3 separate regions of the Homo sapiens genome follow, and all the other regions are linked to region 2. The links are contacts of gene promoters, found by promoter capture Hi-C in blood cells and fetal thymus (Javierre and others, 2016). All regions are on one chromosome and are shown on one strand. The core of a region is centred on a gene start or on the middle of the fragment in contact, and the rest is flanking DNA. Distances in the headings are between cores, read along the strand shown. Region 1 overlaps NMT2 (N-myristoyltransferase 2). Region 2 holds the start of FAM171A1 (family with sequence similarity 171 member A1). Region 3 overlaps FAM171A1 (family with sequence similarity 171 member A1).

Region 1 (2,700 bases), core at 137-2,636, 240 kb after region 2:
GGCACGTGCCTGTAATCCTAGCTATTTGGGAGGCTGAGGCACGAGAATCACTTGAACCCAGGAGGAAGAGATTGCAGTGAGCCAAGATTATACCACTGCACTCCAGCATGGGTGACAGAGCAAGACTTCATCTCAAAAAAAAAAAATTACTTAAAAATTTTTTAGGAGAGATAAAGCTTTCTCTCCATAGGATACATTGCACTTTTAGTTTGGATCTCCAGCCCGGAAAGTCAAAGATCCAGCTATGAAAGTCAAAGATGTCATATATAATTGGTCTCTTTACTTGTCAGTGTATTAGGTTAGCTTATTTACTGTGAAAAGCATTTGATCTCAAGGAATATTTTGTGCCAAATGAAGTGTGTACCTGGAAACAGAACCAGGAACAGGATTTGAAGATCTAGGAGGTTTACTGTAGTTCAGAGCGCACCAGCTCTGGTCTGCTCAAAGCCCCTCTCAGGGGTCCCAGGGGTTTGTATCACACTCCAAAGCAACATCTTATCAGATTCTGCACCAGGATGACTCAGTTATTACCATAATTTAGGAAAAACAGATCTAGAAACTTAAAGACGGGCAGGTCGTAGTGATTCATGCTTGTAATCCTAGCACTGGGAGGCTGAGATGGGAGGATTGCTTGAGGCCAGGAGGTCGAGACCAGCCTGGTCAACATAGCGAGACCTCATCTCAAAAAAGGAAAAAAAAAAAAAAGGAAAGAAACGTAAAGAGCCATAGCTGATCCATTTTCTAAACTGAAAACGTATAATGGACCAAAGTCCCAAAATGTATTTAGAACAAGAGGGTTGGAGCCTCCGTGCGTTTTACAATCATTTTGGCAGGGAGATATGGGGAATAGTGTTTCCGTCTGAATTTGTGAAATGTCTAAGTGATAGAATATTTTTGTTAAATATTGTGTTAAAGAATGGCTTTCAGGCCAGGTGCGGTGGGTGGTTCACGCCTATAATCCCAGCACTTTGGGAGATCGAGGCAGGTAGATCATGAGGTCAGGAATGCGAGACCAGCGTAGCCAACATGGTGAAACCCTGTCTTTACTAAAAATACAAAAATGAGCTGGGCATGGTGGCGTGCACCTGTAATTCCAGCTACTTAGGAGGCTGACGCAGGAGAATCGTTTGAACCCAGGAGTAAGAGGTTACAGTGAGCCAAGATTGCGCCATTGCACTCCAGCCTGGGTGACAGTGCGACAATCTGTCTCAAAAAAAAAAAAAAAAAAAAAGAAAGAAAGAAGAAAATAGAATGGCCTTTATGTTCTTTTTTTTCTTTTTCTTTCTTTTCTTTTTTTTTTTTTTTTTTTTTTTTGAGACAGGGCCTTGCTCTGTTGTCCAGGCTGGAGGGCAGTGATGCAATCATGGCTCACTGCACCCTCTGCCTCTCAGGCTCAAGTGATCCTTCCACCTCAGCCTCCCAAGTAGCTGGGACCACATGCATGCGGCAACATGACTGGCTGGTGTTTGTTTTTTGTAGAGATGAGAGTCTCAGTGTTGCCCAGGCTGGTCTGGAACTCCTGGTCTCAAGCAATCCACCTGCCTTGGCCTCCCAAAGTGCTGAGATTACAGGCGACAGCCAGTGTTCCCAGCCTGCATTCTTATTCTTGGATATTTCCTGGGTATCATCTTATTTTTTAAAATGTGTTGACTCTTCATTTTGAATCTCGTTTTGACTCTTAATCTTCACCATCTTTATTTCTTAGTGTGAAGAAGATGGTAGAAATCAACTTTCTTTGTGTTCATAAGAAGTTGAGATCGAAACGGGTAGCCCCAGTGCTAATCCGAGAGATCACTAGAAGAGTGAACCTGGAAGGGATCTTCCAGGCTGTGTACACCGCGGGAGTGGTTCTTCCTAAGCCCATAGCCACATGCAGGTACCAGTACCATATTTCTACCTCAGGTCCTCCCTTTATCAAAAATGTTGAGCCTCACCACTGTTCTGCTAGATGTAGTTTTTGCTGGTAGCAGAGATGGAGACTAGAACCTAGAATCACCAAGTCCAGTATTCTTTCTGGTATATCATTTGCCACTTGGTGATTAAAAAAAAGTTTTTGACATTTTCCTACTAATGATGCTGGATCTATACTTTTTTTTTTTTTTTTTTTTTTGAGGCAGACTCTTACTCTGTTGCCCAGGCTGGAATGCAGTGGCGTGATATTGGCTCACCGCAAACTCGCCTCCTGGGTTCAAGTGATTCTCCTGCCTCAGCTTCCCGAGTAGCTGGGATTACAGGCATGTGCCACCACACACAGCTAATTTTTGTATTTTTAGTAGAGACAGGGTTTCACCATGTTGGTCAGGCTGGTCTTGAACTCCTGACCTCGTGTGGATCTATACTTCTAAGTCTATTCCATGTGAAAGATGAATGCTGTCTCTACATGGGAAAACCTAGGACATGATGATCTTAAAATTCCAATGTCATACCATTTTCTTTCCACCCCAAAGATCAGTTTTCTGCCATGCTTTGCAGCACCACCAAAGTGTCCTGAAAGTCTAATAAGCATCCATTCAAAAGCCTCAGATGTATTTGTTTGTTCAGAGTAGGAAGACCTAAGCTATGTTTTTACAACTTCGTCTGCACTAGTCAAGCTTTCACAGGTTATTCCAGTGAGAAAATGATCAGATTCCCACAAGACTAACCTGTTTCTAAAACATCAGAGTTTATCTCCCCACCCCTCACCACTGTTTTTATTGACTC
Region 2 (2,853 bases), core at 185-2,684:
TGATTTTTTTTTTTTTTTTTTTTTGAGACGGGGTCTCAGTCTGTCATCCAGGCTGGAGTGCAGTGGCACGATCTTGGCTCACTGCAACCTCCCCACTCCCAGGTTCAAGCGATCCTCCCACCTCAGCCTCCTGAGTAGTTGGGACCACAGGCATGGGCCACTATGCCTGGTTAATTTTTTTGTATTTTTGGTAGAGACAGGGTTTCACCATGTTGGCCCAGCTGGTCTCTTAACTCCTGAACTCAGGCCATCCACCTACCTCAGCCTCCCAAAGTGTTGGGATTATAGGCATGAACCATCACACCCAGCCAAGTCTGGAGGTTTTTGTGAAGAGTTTCAATTTTGGGGTCAGACTGACTGTTTTATTAGAATTTTGGCTCTGCCACTGACCAGGTATGCACTTTTGGACAAATTCCTTAACCCTCTTTAGCCTCTTTTCTCATCTGTGAATGGGGGGGATAATGCTAACTACCTCTTAGATCATGTATTGTGAAGATGGACAAAGAGTCTCTGCTTGACCGAACTACAGTCAGGCTCCGGAACCTTCTTCTAGGCTCAGTTGTGCCCTTCCTTGTAAAATCTGCTTTCAGGAAGAACCCTGCTAAGTCAGTTTACCAAGAACCCTCCACCCTGGATATCTGATCAGCTTCCCCATCCGCCCTGTCCTGCCCAGCCCTGCCAGGGGATGTCTGACTTTCAAGAATCCCCCTTCCCCCTGATGTTTCCTCTTATAATTTTTCATTCCCTGCATCCCACCCTGGTCCTCGGTTATAAATCCCCACTTGTTCCTGCTGTATTCAGAGTTGAACCCAACCTTTCTCCCCGACTGCAGAATCCCATGGTAGGGCTTATACCTATTGCGATGGTTCCAAAGAGGGTCTTCTTTGCTGTGCTTTCACACGTGTCATGGAATAGTCTTTTTTCTTTAATAGGACAGAAAGTTTTAAAGCACCTAGGGCCTCAAAAGATGTGGATTTCCTCCCCACCCTAACCCCTAGAACCATCCAAGTACCATTCCTCCTGAAGCTGTCCACCCGCCAACACGTAGGTACTGCAGGCCTACTGCAGTCTATACTGGCTTGGGGAGTGTTTTTGCGGATCTTTAACACTGGGTGTGAAATCTACGTTGGGGGACACAACTACATTAGGATGGCACCTGGTGGGGGGGTCACACCCAGATACAATGTCTCCTGCGGCCCCTTGGGTGACCTGGTGTGATGAAAAGGGCTCCGCCCTGAAAGGCAGGTCTGGCTCTTCTGCGGGGCTGCGGGGATGGGGCGCGCCGGGGCAGTGTCGCCGGGGGTCGGGCTGGGGGCGCGACGCAGCGGCGCCGGGCGGGGGCGCCCTCGGCGCCGCAGCCGCCAGGTGGCACCACGGGCCCGGGGCCTGGGCGCGGGCAGCGGCGGCGGCGGCGGGCGAGGCAGGAAGGGGTTAAGGAGCTGGCGGAGCAGCAGCAGCCGCCGCCGCCGCCGCCGCCGCGGCTCTTCGGGGAAACCCGGCGCGGGGCGCGGGAGGGAGCGGCCGGGGCGGCGGGGCCGGGCCAATCGGGCGGCGGGCCCGGCGCGCGGAGCCAGCGACATGGAGGGGGGCGCGGCGCCCGGCCGCCCGTGACGCGCCGCCGCCCGGCCCGCTCTCGGCGAGCCCGAGCCGCCGCCGGCCCCGCGGCGGAGATGAGCAGGTCCGCGACGCTGCTGCTGTGCCTGCTGGGCTGCCACGTCTGGAAGGCGGTGACCAAGACGCTGCGGGAGCCCGGCGCCGGAGCCCAAGGTCAGTGGGCGGCGGCGGGGCCGGGGGCTTTGTGTCGCGCCGGGCCTGGCGCGGAGGCGGCGGCGGCGGCGGCGGCGGCGGGAGGGTCCCGGGCCGCGTGGTGGCGACGCAGCCCGAGCCGCATCGGGAGCCTCCGGGCCTGCAGCACCCGCAACGCGCTCCCGAGGGGGCGGCGCGGGCCGGCGACGCGGGGTGACCCGGGCGGAGGCTTCGGGGGCCGGGGATCGGGGGCTGGGTCGGGCGGGGGCGCGGGCAGCTCCAGCTGCTGTCGCCGCTGCGGCGGGGGCTCGTCTGGATGCGCCCGGGGGTCCCCTTTATGCCGCGCCTCGGACACGCGGCTCTGTCTCCCATGTCGCCGCGGACAGAGGGGCCGCCCAGGGCGCGCCGCCCGATCGCGCTCCCGGCTCCCCACGCCGGGCTCGGGTCTGGGAAGTCCCAGCTCCTGGGCTGCGCTGGGGCCTTTTGTTGTGGCGGGAGGGGGTGGCTGACGCCCCGGGGTGCCCCCTGTGTCCCGGGGCCCCGAGGTCCGCTGCCGCCACTAGCCACTAGCCTGCCGCAGTTTGGGAAAGTTTGGGGGGTTCTCTCCCCCTGCCTATCTGACGTCTCTTCCAGACCATAAGGGATTTGCTCAGCGGCCCATGAGTCTTCTCTGTAAGGGAAGAAAGAATTGAACTGGGAGGCCCTCATCGCTCACCAAAAAAAAAAAAAAAAAAAAGAAAAATCCTTTCCAGATCAGTTTGTCGCCAGCTCGTGCCTTTTGTCTCGTCTTTGGCCTCCACAAATCTGCTTTCCAGCCCTGGGAGTAACGTGGTCGCCTCTGAGAATGGCCACGAGCCTGTCTTTTGTTTTTAAAATCAGCGTTTTTTGAGGGGAGTCCCCCACACCCACCCTGAGGCTTGCTTGGCACATTTTTGTGGGGACAGCGTCGAGGACTCCTCTGTTGCTGGCGTTTTCAAAAGGGCCACTGAGGCCCGCAGATGAGCCTCTGCATTCACCCAGGGCACCGCTGCCTGGACTCTTGCCGGGGGCTCAGGTCTCTGCGAGGGAGCTCCCTGCAGCCCTGCAGAACCCCGGGATTCCGAGCCC
Region 3 (2,917 bases), core at 145-2,644, 150 kb after region 2:
AGCCACCTCCTAAAATGCCGGCTGCACGACCAGGTTGGCGCAGCTGCAGTGGTGCGGCTTCTGCAGGAAGAAGCCTGGGTTTCTGGGGTGAGGCAGGAGGAGGCTGTAGGGTCCTGCTTGCCTTCACCACATGACCTTGCCTTGAGTCTGCAAGTCCCAGCGGCCACCTCAGCTGCTTGCTTGTGCAGAGGACACTAAGAGGCAGTGGTAAGCCCCTGGAAGAGGCTGGGAAGGGCAGAAAGAGAAGCTCAGGGTGAAGGGGGCTTGAGCAGGTAGCCCAGCTGGGCTGCTGTCACATTAGGGACTGTTGTCTGTCAGACCCCAAGGAGACAGGCTTAAGAAGGAGAGCCCTCTGGGCAGATGTCCTCACCCAGGAGCATCCCAAGGCCTCCATGCTTAGGGGCAGGTGGGCCGACTTGAGAGGCCTTGCAGTGGAGCTTTCTTTGGTTCGTGCAGCAGGAACAACCTGGTTCCTCCCTTGCTCTGTCTCAGCAGTGCCCGAGGCTCTCACCGCATGATGAAAGGGCGCCCTTCCTGGTTGCAACACCCAGCGGTCCCATATTCAGCAGAAGAGACTTTGCAGAGGCCTGTGTGCTCTGCCATCCGGTACCACCAGTAAAGAATCCTGGCCCTGGTGCCCGCTGCTCCGGTGGTGAAACTGTCTGCATCCCACAGTGGCATCAGGATTCCGCCATGAGAAGCATGTGTTTCTAGTACACAATTTGCTAATTCCCATACTCCCTGGAGCTTATTTCCTCCCACAAAACACGGAAAGCATGAAATGCTTTTGCCAGTAACAGCATGATTGTTGAATCCCCAAAGAGTGTCACGCTTTAGCCATAGTAGGCTCTTCCCCAGCTGGTTCTGTTCCCTTTAGTTTGAAAGGGCAGCATCCCAGGCATGATCAGACTGCCATGGGGATATCCTTCCCTGCCTACTGCACCCAGCCTTTCACAGGTTACCAGATATTATTTTTTGATTGCACCTGTAGCTTCCACTCATTCTGAAGGTCTCTGGAGTTCCTACTCTATGCATATCTCTAGGTGCTGAGAAGAAAACAAAAGGAACGCAAGACACAGGCCACACCCATGGAGTTTACGATCTAAGAAAGGAGATAAGACTGAGGGCCACAGGCTAGCCACGGAAGGCAACGTGTGTTTTTGGCAAATGGGTGATGCAGTAACACTTGCCCAGGATGTGCCAAGACACGGAAGACCCATGTGTCCTAGAAAGGCCTCTGGAAAAACACTGGGCTTGATTTGAATCTTGAAAGACTGGGTAGATTTTTGGAAGAGAGAAAAACTATATGAGGTTGGAGCTACATTTGCAGGCAAAGTCACAGAATGGGTAGAGGTGTGCATTGTGAAGACTGCCTGGCAGGAACTAAAGAGGGGGTTGGGGACTGTATTAGTCTGTTTTCACGCTGCTGATAAAGACATACCTGAGACTGGGAAATTTATAAAGAAAAAGAGGTTTAATAGACTCACAGTTCCACATGGCTGGGGAGGCCTCACAATCATGGCAGAAGGCAAAAGGCACATCTTACATGGTGGCAGGCAAGAGAGAAAACTTGTAAAGGGAAACTCCCCCTTATAAAACCATTAGATCTCCTGAGACTTATTCACTATCACAAGAACAGCACAGGAAAGACCTGCCGCCATGATTCAGTTATCTCCCACCAGGTGCCTCCCACAACACACAGGAATTGTGGGAGCTACAATTCAAGATGAGATCTGGGTGGGGACATAGCCAAACCCTATCAGGGGTAGAAGAGAGGAAGGAAGTGGGAGAAGCTCCAACCATGTGTGCCTCCGTTTCCAGGTCCCCCATGTCCTCCTGCAGCAAATGGGGTGTGAAGATCGTCCCAGAAGGATGCCTAACTCCTTTCCAGCCCGGGCACAGCTGCTCCGTCCTGTTCACCCGGGGCCTCTGTGCTCCCATCCCCACTTCCATCTTCACATGTCATCCAGGCCCACCACACCAGGCCTTTGTACACACTGATCCCTGGGTAGAATGTCCTCCTTCTCTTTCTCCTGGCTCCCGCCCTGCCCCATCTCTCCCCATCACTGACAACCCCTGCCTGTTCATCAAAACTAAACTCATCCCAATCCTTCTACACCCACCCCAGGTGGGTGTTTCCTAGCTGACCCTCCAAGCAGCTATGTCTTCTTCAGCCAATGGACTTTCTGGCCTCCACCAGCACCACTGCTGGACTGCAGGCCCTCCAGAGTGAACTTGGGGACTCATTAGTCTGGTGGGGTCTATATATGTGGTCACCCACTAGGCTTGTCCCAAATGTAATGTGGAGGGGTTTTTTTTGTTTTGTTTTGTTTTATTTTTAATTGAGATAGAATCTTGCTCTGTCGCCCAGGCTGGAGTGCAGTGGCTCAATCTCAGCTCACCGCAACCTCCGCCTCACAGGTTCAAGTGATTCTCCTGCCTCAGCCACCCCAGTTGCTGGAATTACAGATGGGAGCCACCACACCCAGCTAATTTTCATAGTTTTAGTAGAGACGGGGTTTTGCTGTGTTGCTCAGACTGGTCTCAAACTCCTGACCTCAAGTGATCCACCAGCCTCAGCCTCCCAAAGTGCTGGGATTACAGGCATGAGCCACCACCCCCAGCCAATGTGGAGCTATTTTTTAAAGTCTGTTTCAATTGGTTATCGTGTGTTTTAGAAGGGAAAGGCAACTTAGGGAGAAAGGCAGGAGAAAGGCAGGTGTGCATTCATGAATGAGCAGGACTTACTCTGCTTCCAGCTCTCACCCTCTGGGTCCCGTTTAGCCTAACCCAGAATCTGCTGTTTGACAAGCAGTGACTCAACAATCTAATGTGGGGAAAACAGCAAACCAAAGAATGCACAGCCCTTTCCTGGCTGATGCAGAGAGGCTGAGAGCATCACTGTAGTGGGCCAGCT

The links. The method cuts DNA at HindIII sites, captures the fragments that hold promoters and counts their contacts. A CHiCAGO score of 5 or more calls a contact.
Region 1: a contact is called between a fragment that was not itself captured here and the fragment with the promoter of FAM171A1 in region 2, in 3 of 17 cell types (endothelial precursors, non-activated CD4 T cells and naive CD4 T cells). The highest score is 7.0, in endothelial precursors.
Region 3: a fragment that was not itself captured here is called in contact with the fragment with the promoter of FAM171A1 in region 2 in 3 of 17 cell types (endothelial precursors, megakaryocytes and erythroblasts); the score reaches 9.0 in endothelial precursors.

Annotation. Positions count from the first base shown.
Region 1 is chr10:15,129,318-15,132,017 of GRCh38, reverse strand. NMT2 (N-myristoyltransferase 2) reads left to right here. Exons shown (of 12, transcript NM_004808.3): 7 at 1,706-1,876. Among named protein-coding and RNA genes, the nearest start is that of RPP38, 33 kb to the right of the region's middle. The HindIII fragment of the contact is 2,415 bases long and covers 179-2,593 here.
Region 2 is chr10:15,369,870-15,372,722 of GRCh38, reverse strand. FAM171A1 (family with sequence similarity 171 member A1) reads left to right here and starts at 1,434. Exons shown (of 8, transcript NM_001010924.2): 1 at 1,434-1,767. The coding sequence starts at 1,671. RefSeq lists silencers at 1,388-1,437, 1,448-1,677. The HindIII fragment of the contact is 10,313 bases long and covers 1-2,853 here.
Region 3 is chr10:15,223,326-15,226,242 of GRCh38, reverse strand. All of the region lies in intron 5 of FAM171A1 (family with sequence similarity 171 member A1), which reads left to right. The region is part of intron 1 of FAM171A1-AS1 (FAM171A1 antisense RNA 1); the gene reads right to left. Among named protein-coding and RNA genes, the nearest start is that of FAM171A1-AS1, 16 kb to the right of the region's middle. The HindIII fragment of the contact is 3,247 bases long and covers 1-2,917 here.